Linked DNA regions of Homo sapiens: all the other regions are linked to region 6. Evidence: promoter capture Hi-C in human tissues and cell types (Jung and others, 2019). All regions are on one chromosome and are shown on one strand. Each heading gives the region's core, a stretch centred on a gene start or on the middle of the fragment in contact. The rest is flanking DNA. Distances are from core to core; before and after follow the strand shown.

Region 1 (3,388 bases), core at 516-3,015, 280 kb after region 6:
AAGAGAACAAAGTTCTTGGCTGGACATTATGGCTCATGCCTGTAATCCCAGCACTTTGGGAGGCCGAGGTAGGCCCATCACTTGAGGTCAGGAGTTTGAGACCAGTCTCACCAACATGGTGAAACCCAGTCTCTACTAAAAATATAAAAATTAGCCAAGCGTGGTAGTGGGTGCCTGTAATCCCAGCCACTGTGGAGGCTGAGGCAGGAGAATCGCTTGAACCTGGGAGGCGGAGGTTGTAGTGAGCCGAGATCGTGCCACTGCACTCCAGCCTGGGCTACAAGAGCGAAACTCCATCTCAAAAAAAAAAAAAAAAAAGAGAGAGAGAATAAAACTATTCACCCCAAAATAATAGATTTTAACCTTTCAGCCAGTTCCTTCTGACATTTCACCTCTGTATATTACTATTGTTAAATCATGGTAGAACCGAATTCTGAGGCCCAGGCCACTCTTCTAAGTGCTGCGCGGATGTGAGCTCATGTGAGGCTGCCCTAGGCCCGCACGGGCCATTCCCATCTTACAGAGGAGGTGCCAGAGGCGCAGAGAGATGGGGTAACCTGCCCAGGCCACAGAGCTGGGGACGGATGGGGCTGGGGCCTCTTACCAGACCAGCCCTGTCCAGTCTCTGTGTCACCAGCCTTGCAGGAGGGAGCCATTGGGGACCAGACTCTCTTCTTACTAAATTTTAAAATAATAGCATTTCTCCTGATCATTGAGTTTTTTTCCCATATATTCCATGTTTTTTGTTTTTGTTTTTTTTTCTTTTGAGACGAAATTTGGCTCTTGTTGCCCAGGCTGGAGTGCGATGGGGCGATCTCGGCTCACTGCAACCTCCGCCTCCTGGGTTCAAGCGATTCTCCTGTCTCAGCCTGTGGAGTAGCTGGATTATAGGCGCCCGCCACCACACCCGGCTAATTTTGTATTTTTAGTAGAGACAGGGTTTATCCATGTTGATCAGGATGGTCTCGAACTCCCGACCTCAGGCAATCCACCCACCTCAGCCTACCAAAGTGCTGGGATGACAGGTGTGAGCCACCGCACCCGGCCACTATATTCCATGTTACTCGTGTCATTTATAAACAGTGAATGCTGATAGTGGAGGAGGAGCGTGTGTTTGGGGTCATCTGCATCCTCCTCTGCCCACAGTGGAGACATCCTTGGAAGATACGATTTATCTTGTGCTTCAGAGACCATTCCCTCCCCACACCCTCTCCTAAGACTTGCTATTTAAGCAAAGTAAATGTTACAGAAAATCCATCAAAGCACTGTGAACAAAATTCCACATTGCTCTAATCATCCTTTGGTTCAATTCTCCCAGTTCCAGAGTTCAGGAATGGCGGAAAGAACACAGAGGGAGCACCCTCCCAGGGCCGGGAGCACCAGCCCTGCCATGACTTTCGGTGGCGGGGGAGAGTCTCAGCAGGGCACCTGGGCTGGGGCAGGTGGGGAAGCGGCCTATTCAGAAGCAGCAGTGGGGCAACCACAGAGCAGGAAAAAGAGCCTGGCTGGGAGTGGCGGGGGCAGGGGAGCCAGAGGGGAGGGAGCCCAGGGCTGGGGCTGGGGCAGGGGGAGGCCAGGGCTGACGCCCAGCAGAGCCACCAGGCAGGAAGGGGCAGCAGAGGGGCCCAGCGGGTAGAGCGGGCAGCGGTACCTGAAGTGAGGCTTCATCCTTGGCCGGCTAGTCCCGACTAAGATCTTTGTCTGGAGCACCAGGGTTTCACTTTCTGCTCCAGGCTCCAGGTTTCAGGACAGCCCTCCCTAAAGTGACCTCCCAGGGCCTCGTAGTCATGGCCCCTCCCCCTTCCTGCTCAGGCGCTGGTGTAGGAGGCCCTGGGACGCTTTATCTTCCTCAGTCTCTCACCCTCTTTCTGGTTTTCTCTGGGGCCCTCCCCCTGGCAGAGGGACCTCTGATAAAGACAGGCCGCTCTGTGCGGCAGGACCCAAGGCAATTGCAAAGGGAAAGAGAAAGTCATTGCAGCCAGCGCCCGCGAGGTGGGTCCACACCAGGCTGAGCCAGCAGAGCACAAGCCCCTCCCCTGGTGGTCCCGCCCAGCTGGAGCCTCCTCTCCACCATCAAGACAGACAGGCTGATGCCTCCGCAGGGACTCCCGGATCCTGCCCTCGGGGATCATCCCAGAGACGGCCCCCACCCAGCGGCCATGGGGACAGGGAGGGAGAGTAAAGGGCCAGGTGTCTGCCTCTCCCCAGGCCTTCACCCTCGGAGGCCACCGTGGGAGGGAGGGACAGCAGGTGGGTGTGGGCCTCAGATGTCCCACCGGGATGCCATGCGCGCCCCCACACTGAGCTCTTTCCTTCCTGCTTCTCCTTCTTCCCCATCTCCTGCCCGGAGTTCCTCCCTGGTGGGCTGAGCTCTCGCCTCCTCTTGTCCCCATGTCATGGAAGAGCAGTGGCTGGTGTCCCAGGCCAGCCTGTCTGGAGCCTCCCTGCGCGTCTCACAGCTCCCTTCCCCTGGTAGCGTGTTCCCATGGCGCGGTGACCTAAAAATTACACAAGGGATGCATTTGGTTTTTTTGTTTGCTTTTGTTTTTTTGTGTTTTTTTGTTTGTTTGTTTGTTTTGAGACGGAGACTTGCTCTGTTACCCAGGCTGGAGTACAGTGGCGTAATCTCAGCTCACCGCAACCTTTGCCTCCCAGGTTCAAAAGATTCTCCTGCCTCAGCCTCCCATGTAACTGCGATTACAGGCACCCACCCCTACGCCTAGGCTAATTTTTGTATTCTTAGTAGAGACAGTGTTTCTCCATGTTGGTCAGGCTTACAGCCGCCCACCACTATGCCTGGCTAATTTTTGTATTTTTAGTAGAGACAGGGTTTCTCCATGTTGGTCAGCTGATCTCGAACTCCCGATCTGAGGAGATCCGCCCGCCTTGGCGTACCAAAGTGCCGGGATTACAGGTGTGAGCCACCGCGCCTGGCCACAATGTATAAATTTGGAAAGGAGATTTTATTTCTTGTTAAGGGTGACAGGCAGCAAGGTAGCCATCCCGCAGCCTGGGAAGAGCAGCCTCTGGGAAACACCAGAGACAGACATTTAGAAGCAGGAGGGGTTGGGGCAGGAGCTTTATGCTGAAGGGGTTGGCTAAACATACATATTCAACAGGCTATAGGAGGAGCTATGAATATTCATGTGGGTGGCTGCACTCCATGCTTATTGAACAAACATGCGTGTAACATATGATCCCAGGCAGGCACAGTGGCTCACGCCTGTAATCCCAGCATTTTGGGAGGCCGAGGCAGGTGGATCATCTGAGGTCAGTGTCAGGCCTCTGAGCCGGAGCTAAGCCATTGTGACCCCTGTGAACTGCACATATACATCCAGATGGCCTGCAGCAGCCAAGAAGTCTGGAGCAGCCAAAAAAACACAAAAGA
Region 2 (3,373 bases), core at 782-3,281, 420 kb after region 6:
TCTATAGCTATCTCAAGTAATCACCCATCTGGAGGTCTGGTTTGTGTCATCCTGTCTTCAGCCCAGTGGTGGTGGACTAACTTCCTAACTTCCCTTGAGCGGGAGGATTCAACAGCTGGGTCTCTCTGCCTGGCTTGTTGCAAAACTGCCCCCTGAAATTTCTAAGCAAGCACATAATCGGATAAGTCAGCACTGTGCACGGGAGCACCTGGTGGGAAAAAGAGAAAGAATTTCAAAGTATGTTTCAAGGCTGAAAGCAAGAAAGGAAAAAAAAGTTTTAAAATGCATTTCGAGGCTGGGATACTCGGTTACACTACTCCTTGGCTGATACTGCAGCTGGGATGATCGGTTTACCTCAGAGATACAGGAAAGGAAGAGAGAAGTTTGTGGTCTCAGGTCACATGCCACTATTGTGGTCAGGCCATTAAAATAGTAGTGAAGGAAATTAAAGATGCTAAATTTATAAATGCAACTTAAAGATTAAAGTGGTTGTAAATGGAACCAAGCATGTGCTCTTCTTAGAATAATACAAAGTGTAAAATGAACTTGAAATCTCAAAAATAACTAGGATTTTGAGTTTATACATTTAATAAAGAGAATATCACATTTAAAAAATAAAAGGTCTGAAACGACAGCATTTCACTTGTCTACTAAAAGTGGAATATCTGAAAAATCAAAAATTAATCAAAATGAACATTTTTTTTCCTCGGGTTAAACTCAGAATATTGCAGCCAAAAATAGAGGTAAATTGTTCATATTTCCAATAAAGAATCCTACTCTACTAGATGACACTAAATAGATAGCTGAAATTTAAGTGTGTTTGCTTAGAAGCAACTCTGATTTCAGATTATTTTATGGATAGAAAACTTTTCCTCAAGGAAAGAGCTTGGTGTATTAAATTTAAAAGATAATCTCAAGATCTCAGGTATGACTCTGTAAAGCATGTATAAATTTTGTTGTTTTTCTAAATTTTTTTCAAATTTGAGAGATGGTATGTGTTCTAAATTACAGTTATAGGGAATGTATAATGAAAGCCAACATTTTAAATTTAATCTGAATTTTAAAGCTTAGTAATTTTGTTAGTTTCCGTAAGGTTAAGTGCAATTACTACAAAATACAAAATTGGGAATTGGAGGTATAGCACAGCCTGCTTCCATGCAAAAACCTGAATTTTTGCACTAAAACTAAATAGGCAAAACCTTCTGCAAATATATGATCATAGAACCACAATTGAAGTATACTACAATGGAAATGTGATACAATTATAAAGCCTACTGTCTTTTAGAAATCGGTTGTAGCGGAAATTATGTAAATCTAGGCCAGGTACAGTGGCTCACACCTGTAATTCTAGCACTTTGGGAGGCTGAGGCAAGACTCCTGCTTGACTCCGGTAGTTCAAGACCAGCCTAGACAACATGGCAAAACTCCGTCTCCACAAAAAATAAAAATAAAAAAAAATTAGTCATGTGTGGTGGTGCACACATCTGTAGTCCTAGCTACTCGGGAGTCTGAGCTGGGAGGATGCTTAAACCTGGGACGCAGAGATTGCAGTGAGCCAAGGTCAAGCCACTGCACTCCAGCCTGGGCAACAGAGCGAGACTCTATCTCAAAAAAATAAATAAATAAATAAATAAATAAATAAATAAATAAAAGAAAAGAAAATTATGTAAATCTATAAAAAAAATTCCACTTGAACTTTTGGGGTAAAGAACCAAAGGTACAATAGCTTCTTTCAATAATTATTTATTATTTTTAGTTTTTTAAATAAGTATAATATGGGCATATTTCATAATTGCTTTGAGAAATTTGAATTTTAAACATGAATCAGTAGGCATTTGGTTTTATCAAAAGCTCCTTAATAAATTAGAAGTTTTACATTAGGATTACCTGCAATTAAAATATAAACACAAACACATATGGAGTGAAGCATGCATTTTCACCCATAAATTAGAAGATTTTAGGGCAAACCTAAATATTTTCACATATTAACCATATGGCACTCCAAAATTTTAAGCAGTCTTTTTAAAATTCCTCTAAGTGGGCCCGATGGGGTGGTTCATGCCTGTAATCCCAGCACTTTAGGAGGCTGAGGTGGGAGAATCACTTGAGGTCAGGAGTTCGAGACCAACCTAGCCAACATGGTGAAACATCATCTCTACTAAAAATACAAAAAATAGCCGGGCTTGGTGGTGGGCACCTGTAATCCCAGCTACTTGAGAAGCTGAGGCAAGAGAATCGCTTGAACCTGGAAGGCAGAGGTTGCAGTGAGCTGAGATCACACCACCGCACTCCAGCCTGGGCGACAGAGTGAGACTCCATCTCAAAAAAGAAAATAATAATAATAATAATAACCTCTCCCTAAAACCTAGCCTGCAACATGATGAAACCCTATCTCTACTAAAATACAAAAATTATCTGGGCATGGTGGCGCATGCCTGTAATCCCAGCTACTTGGGAGGCTGAGGCAGAAGAATTGCTTGAACCCTGGAGGCGGAGGTTGCGGTGAGCAGAGATCGCGCCATTGCACTCCAGCCTGGGCAACAAGAGTGAAACTACATCTCAAAAAACAAATAAATAATTTTAAAATAAAATTCCTCTAAGTGGGCCAGGAGTTCGAGACTAATCTGGCCAACGTGGTGAAACCCCATCTCTACTAAAAATACAAAAAAAATTAGCCAGGTGTGGTGGTGCACACTTGTAATCCCAGCTACTCAGGAGCCTGAGGCACGAGAGTCACTTGAACCTGGGAAGTGGAGGTTGCAGTGAGCCAAGATGGTGCCACTGTGCTCCAGCCTGGGCAAGAGAGGGAAATTCTGTCTCAAAACAAAAAAACAAAAAAACAAAAAAAAAAAACTTCTAAGTGTATGTGGAGGGGGTTAGGTAAAGATTCAAGATGGTTTTGGATTTAATAATACTACTTGGGAGAATAATTTGGATTTATAGCCTAAAACCCTGATGTTATCATACAAAATCTGATATATCAAGTTGATAAAGAAGTGTTATATGTGATTAAAAAGAAAAATATGTGTCTCCAGAAAGGGAGCAATGCAAGGTGAGGACAAACCAAACCAAAAATCTATACAATGTGAAGAGGAAGGCAGTAAACAGGGTAAAGTAGGATGGAAAGGAGACTTCTGTGAAGACACCTTGTTTTACAGTTTTCACTTTAAAATAAAACAAATTTTACATAAATACAAAATAAAATGAAATCAAAATAGAAAAAAATCCCTAAAAATTGAAAACAAATTTAAACAAGCTAAACTAAAATACATCAAGTTAGTAGCATAGACACATTAAAAAATTATTTCATGTTACTTTAAAACACAGTATTTTAAGTGTACATTCCTAGTGGAAAATATTCTAAAGACAATAA
Region 3 (3,255 bases), core at 701-3,200, 490 kb after region 6:
TGCCTCACCGCCAGCTGGGAGCACCGCCAGCTGGGAGCACCGCCACCTGCGGAACCATGGGGCCATATTTGCCTTTGGGGCCACAGCACCTGGCACTTGGCAAGAGGCAGCAGGGGTGAGCTCACCCTCTGCACCAGGCCTGTCAAGGGCCTTACAATTGAATCCCACAAGAACTATGGTACTATTACTATCTCTGTTTTACAGATGAGGAAACTGAGGCTCAGAAAGTTTCAGAAGCTTGTCCAGCTCACTCAGCTGGCATTTCCACCCAGGCAGTCTGGCTCCAGGGCCTGCACCATGACACATTATGCTCTCCTGCCTCTCAATAACAGCAAAGAATAATAGTAATGTGACAACCACGTACTGCCTCTTATGGTTGACCACACTTCATATCTGTTCTTTCATTTTATCATTATTTATATCCCCAAATGTAGGTACTATTATTACACCCATTTTACAGATAAGGTAACTGAGGGCCAGAGGAGTTAAGCAGCTTGCCCAAGGTCGCAGATCTAGTAAGCAAGGAACTGAAAATGACGCTGGCCTGTCTAACGTGACAGTTCGTGTCTGCAACTACGACGCCATGTTGCTGCGGCACACATGGATGGATGGATGGATGGATGGATGGATGGATGGATGATGGATGGATGGATGGATGGATGAGTGCTCTGCAGCCCTGCCAGAGAAGCTCTCAGGGCCCTCTTCTCTCTCTATAGAGCATCTCAGTTCAGGCATCAGGGAAGCTGCCATCTGGAGGATGAGCAGGCAATGGGCAGAGGAGGGGTGGGGGCGGGAAGAATGTTCTTGGAGAAGGAACAGCATGTGTGGAGGCCTTAGGGTGAGAAGGAGTTTGGGGCAGTTGAGCAGCAGAGGACTTTCAGTGGGCGTGACCTATGTCCTGTCGGGGTAAGGGCTGAAGCCAGGAGGACAGGGACTTTATTGGCAGGGAGACGGGGCTGTGGAAGGATTTTAAGCAGGAGAGCAACATGGCTGGATTTGCCTCTGGCCGCTGTGTGGAGGGTGGGAGTGGAAGCTGTGGCACAGTCCAGCGGAGAGTAGCCAGGACTAGGGAGAAGGCTAGGAGCTGAGTGAAGCTCTGGGCGAGACGCAGGTTTAGATTCAAGCATTAGAGACACCACTTCATGAAGCTCTGGGTAAGAAGCAGGGTTAGATTCAACCACTAGAGATGCCACTTTAGGATTGTTTTCCTGTTTTTAAAAGAAAATCATGTCAAGTATTTCAGATGGGCAAAAAGGCATAAATACTACTACCCAGGCCCCTGCCCAGGCTCAAGAACCAAACGTTTCCAATCAGCTGATCCCCATCACAAGGTCAGGAGATGGAGACCATCCTGGCTAACACAGTGAAACCCCATCTCTACTAAAAATACAAAAAATTAGCTGGGTGAGGTGGCAGGCGCCTGTAGTCCCAGCTACTCGGGAGGCTGAGGCAGGAGAATGGCGTGAACCCCAGGGGGGCGGAGCCTGCAGTGAGCCGAGATCGTGCCACTGCACTCCAGCCTGGGCAACAGCGAGACTCTGTCTCAAAAAAAAAAGAAACTCCATCGCAAAAAAAAAAAAAAAATTGTTAGTCACGACATTAATAGTAGACACGCCTGTGATGCTTCCTATGCCTACCGCGCACTAAGCGCTTTCTGTCTATGAACTCAGTCAATCCTCACCACGATGCTATGAGATTTACTCTTTTACCCTTTGGGGCCAATGGGGAAACTGAGGCATGGCACCGTTACATAACAAGGCCACTCAGCTGGTGAAGCCCAGGTGTGAGCCCTAGCAGGACTCAGAACTCAGGGGATGGTTGGATGGGGGAGGTGAGGGGCCGTGGTCCACACTGCTCCCCCTGAAGGCTGCTCACTTTCCACCTGGTCCTGGTGCCCCTGCAGTCTGCCCCTGGTGAGGGAGGTGGGGTGGCAGGATGGGGTTTCTCTGAGAAAGCTTTCTGACCCCAAACTCCCACCGTTGCAAAACCTGGTGGTCTGGCCGTCCCAGAACAGCCTCTGCCTCACTGCCAGCTGGGAGTACCACTACCTGGGTGATCCTGGGCAGGGGCAGTGGTGCAGAGGGTGGGACCCTGACCCTCAACAGACCCAGACCAGCAGTGTAGGCCTGAGGAATGAGCACAGTCTGTGGGCTGTGCAGAGGATGGGACTCTGGCCCTGGAGTCCTGCACCTGCCTTCTGCTCCCTGCAGCAAGGGAATAGACCCCGGGTGGGGCTAAGGTGATGGGGTTTCCCTGCATCCTCCCAGCCTCAGCCACCCCACGCTGGCAGGACCCTCCTATCAGTCTCCCTTTGTGAAGCTGCCCTGCGCCATAGTCTCACACAACCTTCTGGATCTTCTAGACTTCCCGTGGCCATTAGTACCTCTCCTGCTTGCCTTCGAGTTAGGCAGGGCAACCAGCACTGTGCCCACTTGGCAGATCAACCAACAGACCCAGACCATCAGTGTGAGCCTGAGGAATGAGCACAGATTTCAGGATCAGGAAGGCCAGGCTGGAGTGCTGGCTCTGCAGCGTCACAGGTATGTGACCTTAGACAGGCACTGAGCCTCAGTTCCCTCATCTCTGAGTGGGCCTCCCTACTTCCCCAGGCTGTTGAGAGCAGCCTAGAACTGTTTGCACAGATCTTCCCTAGTGCGGGGCCTGGCATGCAGCGAGTGCTCGATGGAGACAGCTGCTGCCGTTAGCATTCTGATTGAGTGCTAATGAGCCCAGCACATTATGGCTGAGCCAGGCCTAGAACAAGGGGCTCTGGCTCTAGGCCCAGCACACTTACGCCAAACCCCACCCCGGACTCCCAGCGGGACAGGCCATGGGTTCCCAGCCTCCACCTTTCTGCCCCAGCAGGAGCTGAGTGGGGGTGCTGGCGTCATCATTCCCTCCATCATCTTAGGTGAGGGGCCCAGTTGGCATCGGGCCGGGAGCCCACGCGGCACAGCCTGCGCCCACAGCAGATGGGAAGTGGGGGTGCGGGAGTCGTGTTCTTCTGATTCAGACACTGGGACGGGGAGGGACTCACACACGATCCGGCGAGCCCACCTCCTCCATGGCCTTCCTGGCCGCTGCAGAGCCAGTGGCTCTGACAAAAGAACAGCTTGAGCGCACACCCCCTCAGCCCGCACGTTTTCTCCTCCAAACAGCGTCTGTTTAAATAGCCTCGACTCCCTGTTCTTGCTGGCAGATCTTCCTCCCTCTGTTCTTCCTGGCAAGTCTTCCTCCCTCTCTCCCTTTGCTGGA
Region 4 (3,075 bases), core at 465-2,964, 400 kb after region 6:
GTGAATGCAAAGGAAAAGCCTTTGAAGGAAATTAAAAGTGCCACTCCAATGAGTACATGAATGATAAGAAAGTGAAACAGGCTTACTGCTGATATGGAGAAAGTTTGAGGGGTCTGGATAGAAGATCAAACCAGCCATGACATTCTCCTAAGCGAAAGCCTAATCCAGAGCAAGGCCCTAGCTCTCTTCAATTCTATGAAGGCTGAGAGAGGTGAGGAAGTTGCGGAAGAAAAGTCTGAAGCTAGCAGAGGTTGGTTCGTGAGATTTAAGGAAAGAAACTGTCTCCATAACATAAAAGTGCAAGGTGAAGCAGCAAGTGCTGATGGAGCAGCTGCAAGTTGTCCAGAAGATCTGGCTAAGATCATTGATTAAGGTGGCCATAGTGAACAACAGGTTTTCCATGTAGATGAAATAACCTTCTATTGAAAGAAGATGCCATCTAGAACTTTCATAGCTAGAGAGGGGAAGGCAATGCCTGGCTTTGAAGCTTCAAAGGACAGGCTGACTATCTTGCTAGGGGCTAGTGCAGCTGGTGACTTTAAGTTGAAGTCAATGCTCATTTACCATTCTGAAAATCCTAGGGTCCTTAAGAATGATGCTAAATCTACTCTGCCAGTGCTCTAGCTTAGATGACTGCACATCTGTTTACAGCGTGGTTTGCTGGATATTTTAAGCCCACTGTTGATATATACTGCTCGGAAAAAAATATTCTTTTCAAATATTCTTTTCAAAATATTACTGCTCATTGACAATGCACCTGGTCACCCAAGAGCTCTGCTGGAGATGCACAAGGAGATGAATGTTGCTTTCCTGCCTGCTAACACAATGTCCATTCTGCAGCCCATGGACCAAGGAGTCCTTTCAGCTTTCAAGTCTGGATCTGGGCAAAGTAAATTGAAACCTACTGAAAAGCATTTATCATTCTAGGTGCCATTATGAACATATCAATCTACCAGGAGTTTGAAAGGAGTTGAGTCCAACCTTTGTGGATGACTTTGAGGAGTTGAAGACTTCAGTAAAAGAAAGAACTGCAGATGTGGTGGAAATAGCTAGAGAACTAGAAGTAGAAGTGAAGCCTATAAATGTGACTGCATTGCTGCAATCTCATGATCAAACTTGAGTGAATGATGAGCTGCTTCTTATAGATGAGCAAAGAAAGTGGTTTCTTGAAATGGAATGTACTCCTGGTGAAGATGCTGTGAACATGTTGAAATAACAACAAAGCATTTTAAATATTATAGAAATTTAGTTGATAAAGCAGGTTTGAGAGAATTGACACCAATTTTGAAAGGAGTGCTACTGTGGGTAAAATGCTATAAAACAGCATCACATGCTACAGAGAATCTTTCATGAAAGGAAGAGTCAATCAATGTGGCAAACTTCATCGTTGTCTTATTTATTTATTTATTTATTGAGACAGAGTTTCACTCTTGTCGCCCAGGCTGGAGTGCAGTGGCGTTGGCTCACTGGTGCAGTTGGCTCACTGCAGTCTCCACCTCCAAGATTCAAATGATTCTCCTGCCGCAGCCTCCCAAGTAGCTGGGATTACAGGTGCTTGCCACCACGCTGAGCTAATTTTTGTATTTTTGGTAGAGATGAGGTTTCACCATGTTGACCAGCCCAGTCTCAAACTCCTGACCTCAGGTGATCCACTCACCTTGGCCTCCAAAAGGGCTGGGATTACAGCCATGAGCCACCACACCCAGCCCATTGTTGTCTTATTTTAAGAAATTGCCACCACCACCCCAGCCTTCAGCAACCACCACCCTGATCTGTTGGCAGCCATCAACATCAAAGCAAGACCCTCCACCAGCAATAAGATTACAACTCACTGAAGGTTCAGATGATCATTAGCCTTTTTAGCAATAAAATATTTTTAAGGTATGTACTTTTTTAGAATAATGCGATTGCACACTTAATAGGCTACAGTATAGAGTAAACATAACTTTTATATGTACTCGGAAACAATAAAATTTGTGTGCCTTGCTTTATTGCAATATTCACTTTATCGTGATGGCCTGGAACCAAACCCACCGTATCTCTGAGGTATTCCTGTACTTAGTCTCTTACACCCAACATCTTATCAGTTCAACCAACACTTATTGAATGCCTGCCTTGTACACTGACAAGGGATAAGGGAGTCCAATATGGACCCTGCACTCCTGGAATTCACAGTCCTAGGTCTCCATCCCCTTCTATGAACTTGCCAGCAGAGGGATGTGGTATAGTGGTGTCATGCGCTTCCCAGCTTCTCAGAGGTCTTGGTAATTGTAAAACTTTGTCAAAGATGACCAAAAGAAAAAGTCCCATTTTCTTCTCCCTGCAAATGTCTCAGCAGCATTATTCTCCAAAGGATTCCAGCCATGTTCCCCTCTCCTCTCACGTCCTTGCTAACTTGATTCCCAATTCTTGGGAGAGGCTGGACTGAAGTCACCACTGACTCTATGGAAAGTGGAAGGAGAATGCAATAGAGACCAGCAGCTGGGCCGGGTGCGGTGTCTCAACCTGTAATCCCAGCACTTTGGCAGGTGGATCACCTGAAGTCAGGAGTTCGAGACCAGCCTGGCCAACATGGTGAAACCTCATCTCTCCTAAAAATACAAAAATTAGCTGGGCATGGTGGTGGGCGCCTGTAATCCCAGCTACTTGGGAGGCTGAGGCAGGAGAATCGTTTGAACCCGGAGGCGGAGGTTGCAGTGAGTCAAGATCACACCACTGCACTCCAGCCTGGGCAACAGAGCAAGGCTCCATCTCAAAAAAAAACAAAAACAAAAAAAGAGAGACCAGCAGCTGTAGTTCAGGACCATGAACAGCGCTGATGGGTGCCTCCTGTGCCAAACAGGTGAGTCCTATCAGCACAAGGTCTTCTCTCCCTATGCAAGAGCCAGTCTGAGGGCAGAACCCCCCTGCCTCTCATAGGTTGTGCTCTTGCTGCTGGAGTAACTGGATTTTCACCAGTGCTCATGTTGTGAACTGTTACAACCCTCCCCTCCAGGCTGGAAGATGGGGCTGAGAACCAAAAATACCCAGGAACGCTTCCATTTGGACCCATCAGTGGAGAAAGGGGAGCTCCCA
Region 5 (3,358 bases), core at 611-3,110, 350 kb after region 6:
AGCTGGCACGGGAGGAGGGAGTCTCATGGGTCATTGGGAAAAATGTAAATTTCTTTTTTTTTTTTTTTTTTTGAGACAGAGTCTTGCTCTGTCCCCCAGGCTGGATTGCAGTGGTGCCATCTCGGCTCACTGCAACCTCTGCCTCCCAGCTTCAAGCGAGTCTCCTGCCTTAGCCTCCTGAGTAGCTGGGATTACAGGCGCCTGCTACCATGCCCAGCTAAGTTTTGTATTTTTAATAGAGACACAGTTTCACCATGTTGGCCAGGCTGGTCTCCAACTCCCGACCTCAAGCGATCCACTCGCCTCGGCCTCCCAAAATGCTGGGATTACAGGTGTGAGCCACCGCACTCGGCCTCGATTTCATTTTAAAAGACAACAACTGGGTGTACCCTCCCGCATGTGCCCACATGCACGTGCACATGCATACATGGGTGTGTGAGCCTACATGCATGTGTACATGTGCATATCCATGTGTGGTTGGGGTAGGGGTTGTTTCATGTCACCAAACAGTGACATGACCTGGTTTTTCTTTTGAAGAGTCACTCCAGAGCTGGGCCAGGTGGCTGATGCCAGTAATCCTGGCACTATGGGAGGTCAAGGATGGAGGATTGCTTGAGACCAGGAGTTTGAAGACCAGCCTGGGCAACATAGCAAGACCCTGTCTCTACAAAAAATTCCCCAGGCATGGTGGCATGGTCCTGTTGTCCCAGCTACTCAGGAGGCTGAGATTGGAGGATTGCCTGAGCTCAGGAGTTCGAGGCTGCAGTGAGATATGATCACGCTGCAGCACTCCAGCCTGGGTGACAGAGACAGAGCTTATCTCTAAAAAAAGAAAAAAACAAAGTCACTCCAGTAGCTGCATGCAAAGGGAATGGGAGCTGAGCTGGTGAACCGGAGACTGTCAGACATCCCAGGCGACAGGTGACAGTGATGGCAGTCAGGGTACATTGGGGGTGAATTGTGGGGATGAATTCAGCCAGAGTGAGTTACTAATTAGATATGGAAGTGAGAGGAAGGGGAGGAAGCAGCGTTTTGGGGTTGAAACAGCTGGGCGAATGAAAGGGAAGGTGGGCAAAAGAAACATTCAGGATTAAGACCAAGACTTCTAATGTGGCATTGTCAAATTCAAGGCGGCGTGGCAGGGGGGCCACCGGGGCCGAGGGGAGCTGTGATCATATGGGAGAGGAGTGCAAAGCCCACAACCTGGGTGATACCTCCCAGGACCGGGGCTGACCGGGGCTGCTCTAACGTCTTTCTTTCTTTTCTTTAATTTTACATTTTAATTTAAATTATATACATGAACACGGCAATGAAGGATACCACAACAGTCCTGTGTTCTGCCAAACAAGCAACGACCATGCTTCTCTAGCCAGGTGGGCCACCTCAGGACTCTTGGGCAGGAAGCACCTACTGGGCCTTGCAGGCCTCTCCCAGCCCCGCTCTGTGCACCCTACATAACCCTAATGAGCCTGGCCTTAGGGAAATCTCAGTGCTGCCTATGGTTTTGCATAGACACCGGTGTGAATCTGGGCTCTACCACTTACCCTCTGTGTGTTCACAGGAAAAGGAAAGAATGGCTTTTCCTCGTAGCACGGTGGTGTCGGGAGCAACTCCCTATTCCCAATATTGGGTAAGATAGGGTTGGATTGGGCGCGAAAAGAGCTTAGCCCAGAGGGGAGACATGGTGCATTTGCCAGAAATGGTGGGTGCCACTCTAAAGGTGGGTGAGGAGAATCTTCTCTCCAACCGTCTTCGCCCCCTGGGCACAGTGCCATCACCTGGGATTTGCTGCCCCCCTGCACACCTGCCCCAGGAGCAGGAGGAGACTCAATAGATAGCATCAGACTAGAGACTGGGGCTGGGAACAGGGCTGGGAGCCTAGAGCAGAAGCCAGGTCCAGAGAGGGTTAAGGGGAGAGGACAGTCCCCAAGGGAACCAGAAGGAGCCCCTGGAGGGCAGGAGGCAAGTGACCATCACCAAGGAACCCGAGGAGGAGGCTCAGGAGCAGAGGCTTCGAGAGGCTGCAGGACTGGCTGTCAGCACCGTGTTAGCCATTAGCCATCATGTCCTAGTCCCTTCACGGTTCCTAGGTCAGGGTCCTCCTGCTTCTGTGACGGTCACAGCATGTGCTCCTGTGGTCCTCCTCTGGTTGCTCTTAGGACACAGGAGGCTTACATCACTTCAGAGTGACCGCAAGCTGCTGGGTCAGCAATGACCTGCCCCACCCCTTCCTGAACTCAGGTCCCCTGTGCCACCCACATCAGTGTCACAGAATAAGGAAGTTCTCTGCTGTGTCTTCCCACAAGCATTGGTTTTGATTTCCCTGCTCTGACAATAGCCCTACAGGGATGCTGTGGAGTGACAATGAGGAAAGCGAGCCTTGGCCACACTTCAGTCACTTTGGGCAGCAGGGACCAGGAAGGCAGGAGGCCAGGGGACAGGCAGGAGGACAGGTATCCACACCCTGGAGAAAGGTCTCGAATAAGACTCAGCGCCCCCAGAGAGTAGGCTCCAGAGCAGCCGACCCTACGTCCCCTACTATAGCCAGCACAGGGCATGCCTGCTGCATCCAGGGCCCTGCAGGGCGTGCAGTGCAGAGAGCAGAGTGTGTCCTGGGTCTTGATCCCAGGCCCTGGGAAGGGAAGGAGACAGACATGCTGAGCCCTTGTTTGTGTCAGTCCATCTAATTACGGCAAACTAGAGCAAGGGGTGCTTTCATCCCCATTACTCCTCTAGAGGAGATACGAGAGGCTCTGAAAGGTACCTAGACTTGCCCAGGCCCTCCCAGTGAGCAGAGTGATGCAGGGACACAAATGCCCTCAGAAGGCTCACCCTGTGCCCTTTCTCCCACCTCCAGCCCTGCAGAAATGTGTGGGAAGCTGTGCTCCTGCCCCAAGTGAGCCCCTGAGTCCCAACGGCAGGTCTGGCGCCATCCTTTCCCAGGTCCACCTACTGCACCCAGCACAGCTGCCCGAAGAATGCACTGGCCCTGTGGGCCTGGGGGCTGCCCCCTGTCCTGCTGATTCCCCTGTCTTGGCTCCTCTTAGACCCCCCATCCTTGGCCAGCTGTCTCATGCAAGAGAGTCCACATCCTGGGGACAGTCCCACCCTGGCCACCCGGACCAAGCACAGCTCCTCGCCCTCCCAGCCTGGCCGGTGCTCGCTGAGGTGGAAACCTCAGAAGAAGGTGGGAGTGATCCACCCTCCTCAGCACAGTGTCCCTGCCATCTTGGTGGGCACCACTCCTCATGGGCAGACCAGAGGAGGCCCTGTTCTCTGCCATGAGGATGCCACCTCCCATTCTGTCTCCAGACCTTGGACTTCTCTAGTCAAGAGGATATCCCCTGGGGGCTGTCAA
Region 6 (2,964 bases), core at 244-2,743:
GATTGCACTGGCGCAATCTCAGCTCACTGCAAACTCCGTCTCCCGGGTTCAAACGATTCTCCCGCCTCAGCCTCCCAAGTAGCTGGGATTACAGACGCACACCATCGTGCCCCGCTAATTTTTGTATTTTTAATAGAGACGGGGTTTCGCCATGTTGCCCAGGCTGGTTTCGAACTCCTGACCTCAGGTGATCCGCCCGCCTCGGTCTCCCAAAGTGTTGGGATTACAGGCGTGAGCCACCGCGCCTGGCCGAGAGAATGCTTTTCAAACGACGGTGGGAGCAAAGGCCAGGCCCAGAATTAAAGAAGATGACAGGGTGGGACAGAGGAAGCAGGTGATATGAGAGCGTGTGCTCTGGCGCAGCCATGAGGCTGAAGTAGACGGTTAGGGGAGCGTCTTTGGTGGCCGCTGAAGTTGATGCTTAATTCCGAGGAAACAACGAGGCGGCCATGGAAAGTAACGAGATACTTGATTCTTAGAAAGATTTGTAGGGGGCCAGGCGCGGTGGCTCACACCTGTAATCCCAGCACTTTGGGAGGCCGAGGCGGGCGGATCACGAGATCAGGAGTTCAAGACCAGCCTGGCCAACATGGTGAAACACCGTCTCCACTAAAAATACAAAAAAAAAAAAAAAAAAAATTAGCCAGGCATGGTGGCGCATTCCTGTAATCCCAGCTACTCGGGAGGCTGAGGCAGGAGAACTGCTTGAACTGGGAACCGGTAGGCGGAGCTTGCAGTGAGCTGAGATCGCGCCACTGCGACAGAGCGAGACTCCGTCTCAAAAAAGAGATTTGTAAGGGACCAGCCTGGAAGCAGGGAATCGGTCAGGATCCGAGTCACCCTGGAGCCTAGGCAGAGATCAGCGAAAGCCCTCGCTGATGCATAGGTCTGGAAGGCGTGGGGCTCCGGGAGGCTGAGCAGCTGGACTCGGCATGACCAGAGGTCGTGAGGCCGTTCCGCAGGCTTGGGACGCTCCTGACCCTCAGAATCAAGCGCGGGCCACTGCATTAGCATGGGAGAAATGGCAGAGATAGGGCTTGAGGGAGGGATGCCCGAGATTAAAGGTATTAAAGGTAAATTGGTGTCGCCGCAAAACCAGCGTGGGAGCCAGGAAACGAGAGTTTCAGTCTTTCTTCGCTAATTCCAGAGATAGCTGCATATCACAGGAGGAGAAGCGACGCAGCCATTTTTCTTCGTTATTATCAAATTTGGCTGCTGCCGGACGCCGTAGATTTGTGGCTCACCCACCCTTAGCCCACCTCTCCGCGGCTTTTCACTAAGTTTGAACCCGACCCCTCGCCGTAGAGTGTGTAATTTCTGTCTCCGAAGCTGACGTCAACTTCTGAACGAAAGCTAGGAGCGGAAGAGCGTGCGTGGAAATGGCGCTCGGTACGTGCCCCCGACCTGTCGTCTGCCGCGGGGGCGCGCTCGCACGCCGGAAGGGGCGGGGCCAGATTTGGCTTTATATAGCGGACCCGTAAGGCCGACCGGCCTCTACCGGCGGGATTTGATGGCGTGATGGTATGTGTTGTAATGGCGGCCGTTTCATTGTCACCGGCGTCGGCACGGCTGAATCCGCGACGCATCGCCGCCATCCCGTCTTGGCCGGCGCCGGGGGTTTGCTTTAGGGGCACGGGCGACCCAGCGGGGACTTCAGTCTGGCCTATTTTCTGGAAAGTCGAGAGGCTTGTGAAGAGCGCTTGGAGGACTGGCTTTGGGCCTGCAGGTCGGCCAGAGAGAGGCCGTAAGGGTGGGAGCAGGCTTGGAGGCCCGGCGTTTTTAAAGCCATGAGTCATTTCTAAGTTTCGACCTCACCAATTCTATCATTAGTTGGGATTAGGGCCCATAACCTGCTTGTCTGGGTAGAAGGACCTTGGGTGGAGGTTCTCGGCGCCGTTCTCATTGGGAGGTAAAGAAGCTTGGGGGAGGGGAGTGTTGTGGAGTCCTCCTGAATATCTGGGGCCGCTGGTGCACTCCGAAGGCCTCTGGAGCTCGCAGAAACCACAGATGATGAACTTATTGACGGGCGGACAGAAACTGTGTGCTGATTGTCACGTTCTGATTTGGCTCTGCGGAGTTCTTTGGCCTGTGTGTATCAGTGTAATTAGTGTCCGGGCACCGGAGGCAGCCTATAGCTTAACATTGCTAGCTGCTACCCAGCGTTTGTCCCGGGAGTCCCTTTCTTTAGCGGTCAAAACCTTGCTAATTGGCATATAAAGCTGCCTGTTAAGCAGTTTTTAGTGCCACTACTTAGTGTATTTTTGTGTGGTTAGATAAAAAAAATGGGTCGTTTTCTTACAGGTTGAGAGGATTTGAAATAAGATTCAGCTTAAATTTTGTCGAATACAAAAGCATTCTTGACACGTGCGAGCCTGGAAGAGATAATGACCTTTTTATTCGGCTTGCTGGGTGTCTGGTCAGGATTCTTCAGTATTGCTGAGATTTGGAACTTAAGCAGCTGGGAACTAGAGAAGGGGGCACTGCTTTGGTTTGGGTGCTGACGGTGATTTTTTTCCCACCTAGTCTCACAGAAAGTTCTCCGCTCCCAGACATGGGTCCCTCGGCTTCCTGCCTCGGAAGCGCAGCAGCAGGCATCGTGGGAAGGTGAAGAGCTTCCCTAAGGATGACCCGTCCAAGCCGGTCCACCTCACAGCCTTCCTGGGATACAAGGCTGGCATGACTCACATCGTGCGGGAAGTCGACAGGCCGGGATCCAGTATGTACAGACATCCTAAAAGTTGGGGGAATAGGAGTGGAGGGGGAGGGAAATTGTAGAGATGGAGTCAAGCTGTTAGCAGAGGGCAGACTTTTTTTTTTAAGCAGGAGTTACACGTTGTCAGAACTGCTGCGACAGCAGAATGGGAATGCTTAACTTGAAAACTAATATTCCAAGGCTACAGATGGTCAGCACTGTTTGCTTTAGGTGCGGTGTGGGGTATTGATTTCAGAGCATAGTAAATTTGC
Region 7 (3,086 bases), core at 447-2,946, 380 kb after region 6:
AGGGGCCTGGGTTGTCTTGTCCACAAATCAATCAAGATGACAATCAAAGGAGAGGCGGTTCCCCAAAGGCAGCAGAGGAAGGGATGCTGGGCAGGCGAGTCCAACCCAGAGCAGCTACACAGCCAGGTGCTGTGGAGTGGTCAGTGCTGCCCTGGTCTCACCCGGAGCTTCTGTTTCATCTCCCCACAGCACGTTCCTTCTGTTTCCTGTTTCCTGGAATCTTGGATCACCTTCTTTACCTATTAGAGATCTTTGGTTGCAAGCAAAAGAAACTAACCATGGCTACCTAGAAACGTGGGGGAAGCTGGGTGCGCTGGCTCACACCTGTAATCCCAGCACTTTGGGAGGCCAAGGCAGGTGGATCACCTGAGGTCAAGAGTTCAAGACCAGCCTGGCCAACATGGCAAAAGCCCGTCTCTACTAAAAATACAAAAATTAGCCAGGTGTGGTGGCAGGCACCTGTAATCCCAGCTACTTGGGAGGCTGAGGCAGGAGAATCACTTGAACCCAGGAGGCGAAGGTTGTAGTGAGCTGAGATCGTGGCACTGCACTCCAGCCTGGGTGACAAAAGTGAGACTCCATCTCAAAAAAAAGGAAACATGGGGGGCGGCTCACAGAGTGGAAAGGTTAACCCTTTTCTACACTGGACAGACAGAAAAGGTTGAAGAGTTAACACCTTTCCACACTCTACAGCCATGGTCCAAGGAGGAGGCCAACAAGATCATGGCACGATTGTAAGCATCATCGGTGGAAAATCAAAAAGGTGGAACCATTTGGCTGCCACATGAAGAAGATGTTTTTTGGAACGGCATTAAGACAGGAAGATTCGGGAGAGGTAAGTCATCATGACCGAGGTTGGTGAGATGCACGTTCCTATAAGTACGGTGATGTAAACCCCAAAGACTGGGTTTTCAACATTTAGATTCAATCTATAGACAGGACATGGGAGGCTGAGATATGTTCACAAAATTAATATAAACATTCTCAACCTTAATAATGTGAAGGCGAAAGTGAAAGAGGTCAAGATGGAATGAGGAGGGAGGCTGGAAGAGGAGTGAGGGAAGTGTCAGCGGCTGATTCACAAGGTTGAGTCAAGTGATTCTGCTTCTTGTTGAGTTTCAGCAAGCACTTGAAGCTGTGGGCGTTTGCCCACGGGGGACCTGAGGGCACTGATGCAACTACATGAGGAGGGGAGAGGAGGGGAGGGGAAGTTCTGGAGAATTATAAGAGCGAAACTCTCATATTCGCGGAGGGAAGGCAGTAGATACCATCAAGAGCTAGTAAATCAAGAAATAGTGGTTCCCCGAGGAAACCACCCAAGGAACTAAAACCAGAGGGTCAGTATGACTGACTCCGAAAACCGGAAGCAGCCTAGAGGAGAAAATCCTCTGCGCCGTGTTCCCTTCTCCAGGATGTTGTCTTAACTAGTGTGTGTTATATCAACAACTTTTAACCTCATCCACAATGTGAAATAAAACGATACTATAACCAGGAATTAGTAAGAAAAGCACAGACTTTCATCAGAAAGCACCATTAAGGGAGTAAGGGAGTGAAAAGGCCTATCATAGACTCGGAAAAGATGTCTGCACTATATCTACCTAACAAAGAGTTTATCTCCCAAATATATAAGGAGCTCCAGAAAATCAGTAAGAAAAAGAGCCCATTATAAAATGGGCCAAAATCTTGAAGGAGCAGCTTACAAAAGTGGATATCAAAATGGCCTGTGAACCCATGAAAATGTGGTCAACCTCATTAATCATCAGAGAAATGTAAAGTAAAACCACAGTGAGATACCACTAGCCCCTCCCCACCAGGATGGCTAAAATCCAAAAGACTGACAACATCAAATATTGTCAAGGATGGAACTCTTTTACATTGCTGATGGTAGCATAAAAGGGGCAGCATAGAATGTTTAGTTGCAGCTACTAAAGCGAAACAAGCATCTACTCCATGACTTAGCAATGCCACTCCTAGGTATTATAATATCCAACTGAAATAGATGCTATGTCCACCAAAAGGCTGCATAAGAACGTTCACAGTCTGGGCGCGGTGGCTCACGCCTGTAATCCCAGCGCTTTGGAATGCTGAGGGAGGCAGATCACCAGAGGTCAGGAGTTTGAGACCAGCCTGGCCAACATGGCAAAACTCCATCTCTGCTAAAAAGAAGTACAAAAATTAGCCAGGCGTGTTGGCATGCACCTGTAATTCCAGCTACTCGGGAGGCTGAGTCAGGAGAATCCCTTGAACCCAGGAGGTGGAGGTTGCAATGAGCAGAGATGGTGCCACTGCACTCCAGCCTGGGCAACAGAACGAGACTCTCAAAAAAAAAAAAAAAAAGAACGTTCATTTCGCTTTATTCATGACAGCCAAAAACTCGAAATAACTCGGTCTGTCCAGCAACAATGGCATATATTAAAATATATTATAATATATAAAATTATTTTAATATATAAATTATATACAATGTAATTTTAATATATTATAATTTAAAATATATATTAAAATATATTGTGAATATGTTATACATGGTAAATATATTGTACTCTCTCCATCAATGGAATACTACACAGCAATAAAAATGAATGAACTCCTGGCATATAAAGCATCAGTGAACCCCACAAAAGTAATATTGAACAAAAGAAGTCACACATAAAAGAATTCATACTGTGTAATTTCTATGAAGTTCAAAAACAGGCAAAATTAATCTATGATAATAGAAGTCAGAACACCAGTTTCCAGTGGAGGGGGAACAAATCGAATGACATGCATGAGCCACCTGAGATTCTGGAGAAAGCCTCCACCCCATCTGGCCGGTGGTTACATCAACTGCAAACCTAAGCTTTTGCAATTAACTCTAAGTTATACTCCAATACAAACATTTTTGAAAGAAAACAAAGTTTCAAAGCCTGTATTTTGAAAGAAGGGAACAGTTTTACTAACGGACATAAAATATCCCAAATACACTGATAGACAGAAATACAACACAAATGCAAATAGAATCACCATGACTGCTCTTAGCTTTCTTTCTTTTTTTAAAATAGTAAACGGGTTATTTAAGTCCAAGTGACAGAATAATTGTGATTGAA

What was found. Contacts are between HindIII fragments. The study calls those that stand out against the background at their distance.
Region 1: a contact is called between the fragment with the promoter of APOBEC3F here and the fragment with the promoter of RPL3 in region 6, in 5 of the 25 tissues and cell types used here (aorta, bladder, lymphoblastoid cells and 2 more).
Region 2: a contact is called between a fragment that was not itself captured here and the fragment with the promoter of RPL3 in region 6, in 1 of the 25 tissues and cell types used here (heart right ventricle).
Region 3: a fragment that was not itself captured here is called in contact with the fragment with the promoter of RPL3 in region 6 in 1 of the 25 tissues and cell types used here (dorsolateral prefrontal cortex).
Region 4: a contact is called between a fragment that was not itself captured here and the fragment with the promoter of RPL3 in region 6, in 1 of the 25 tissues and cell types used here (spleen).
Region 5: a contact is called between a fragment that was not itself captured here and the fragment with the promoter of RPL3 in region 6, in 1 of the 25 tissues and cell types used here (liver).
Region 7: a contact is called between a fragment that was not itself captured here and the fragment with the promoter of RPL3 in region 6, in 1 of the 25 tissues and cell types used here (lymphoblastoid cells).

Annotation. Positions count from the first base shown.
Region 1 is chr22:39,039,241-39,042,628 of GRCh38, reverse strand. APOBEC3F (apolipoprotein B mRNA editing enzyme catalytic subunit 3F) reads right to left here and starts at 1,765. Exons shown (of 7, transcript NM_145298.6): 1 at 1,652-1,765. The coding sequence starts at 1,668. RefSeq lists enhancers at 66-843, 1,896-1,955. The HindIII fragment of the contact is 19,854 bases long and covers 1-3,388 here.
Region 2 is chr22:38,897,882-38,901,254 of GRCh38, reverse strand. The region is part of intron 1 of LOC105373032 (a long non-coding RNA gene); the gene reads right to left. Among named protein-coding and RNA genes, the nearest start is that of CBX6, 27 kb to the right of the region's middle. The HindIII fragment of the contact is 3,107 bases long and covers 478-3,373 here.
Region 3 is chr22:38,831,985-38,835,239 of GRCh38, reverse strand. The region is part of intron 1 of NPTXR (neuronal pentraxin receptor); the gene reads left to right. Among named protein-coding and RNA genes, the nearest start is that of NPTXR, 10 kb to the left of the region's middle. The HindIII fragment of the contact is 5,879 bases long and covers 1-3,255 here.
Region 4 is chr22:38,916,735-38,919,809 of GRCh38, reverse strand. All of the region lies in intron 1 of LOC105373032 (a long non-coding RNA gene), which reads right to left. Among named protein-coding and RNA genes, the nearest start is that of APOBEC3A, 39 kb to the left of the region's middle. The HindIII fragment of the contact is 3,874 bases long and covers 1-3,075 here.
Region 5 is chr22:38,966,803-38,970,160 of GRCh38, reverse strand. It overlaps LOC105373033 (a long non-coding RNA gene), which reads left to right and starts at 2,308. Exons shown (of 3, transcript XR_007068099.1): 1 at 2,308-3,187. It overlaps LOC124905118 (a long non-coding RNA gene), which reads left to right and starts at 794. Exons shown (of 3, transcript XR_007068101.1): 1 at 794-921; 2 at 1,316-1,373; 3 at 1,562-2,048. The HindIII fragment of the contact is 5,262 bases long and covers 1-3,358 here.
Region 6 is chr22:39,318,152-39,321,115 of GRCh38, reverse strand. RPL3 (ribosomal protein L3) reads left to right here and starts at 1,493. Exons shown (of 10, transcript NM_000967.4): 1 at 1,493-1,521; 2 at 2,524-2,716. The coding sequence starts at 1,519. It overlaps SNORD43 (small nucleolar RNA, C/D box 43), which reads left to right and starts at 2,003; the gene lies at 2,003-2,064. RefSeq lists enhancers at 1-724, 889-1,308, 725-1,614, 1,699-1,748, 1,615-2,504. The HindIII fragment of the contact is 19,716 bases long and covers 1-2,491 here.
Region 7 is chr22:38,939,887-38,942,972 of GRCh38, reverse strand. No RefSeq gene overlaps it. Among named protein-coding and RNA genes, the nearest start is that of APOBEC3A, 16 kb to the left of the region's middle. The HindIII fragment of the contact is 9,821 bases long and covers 1-3,086 here.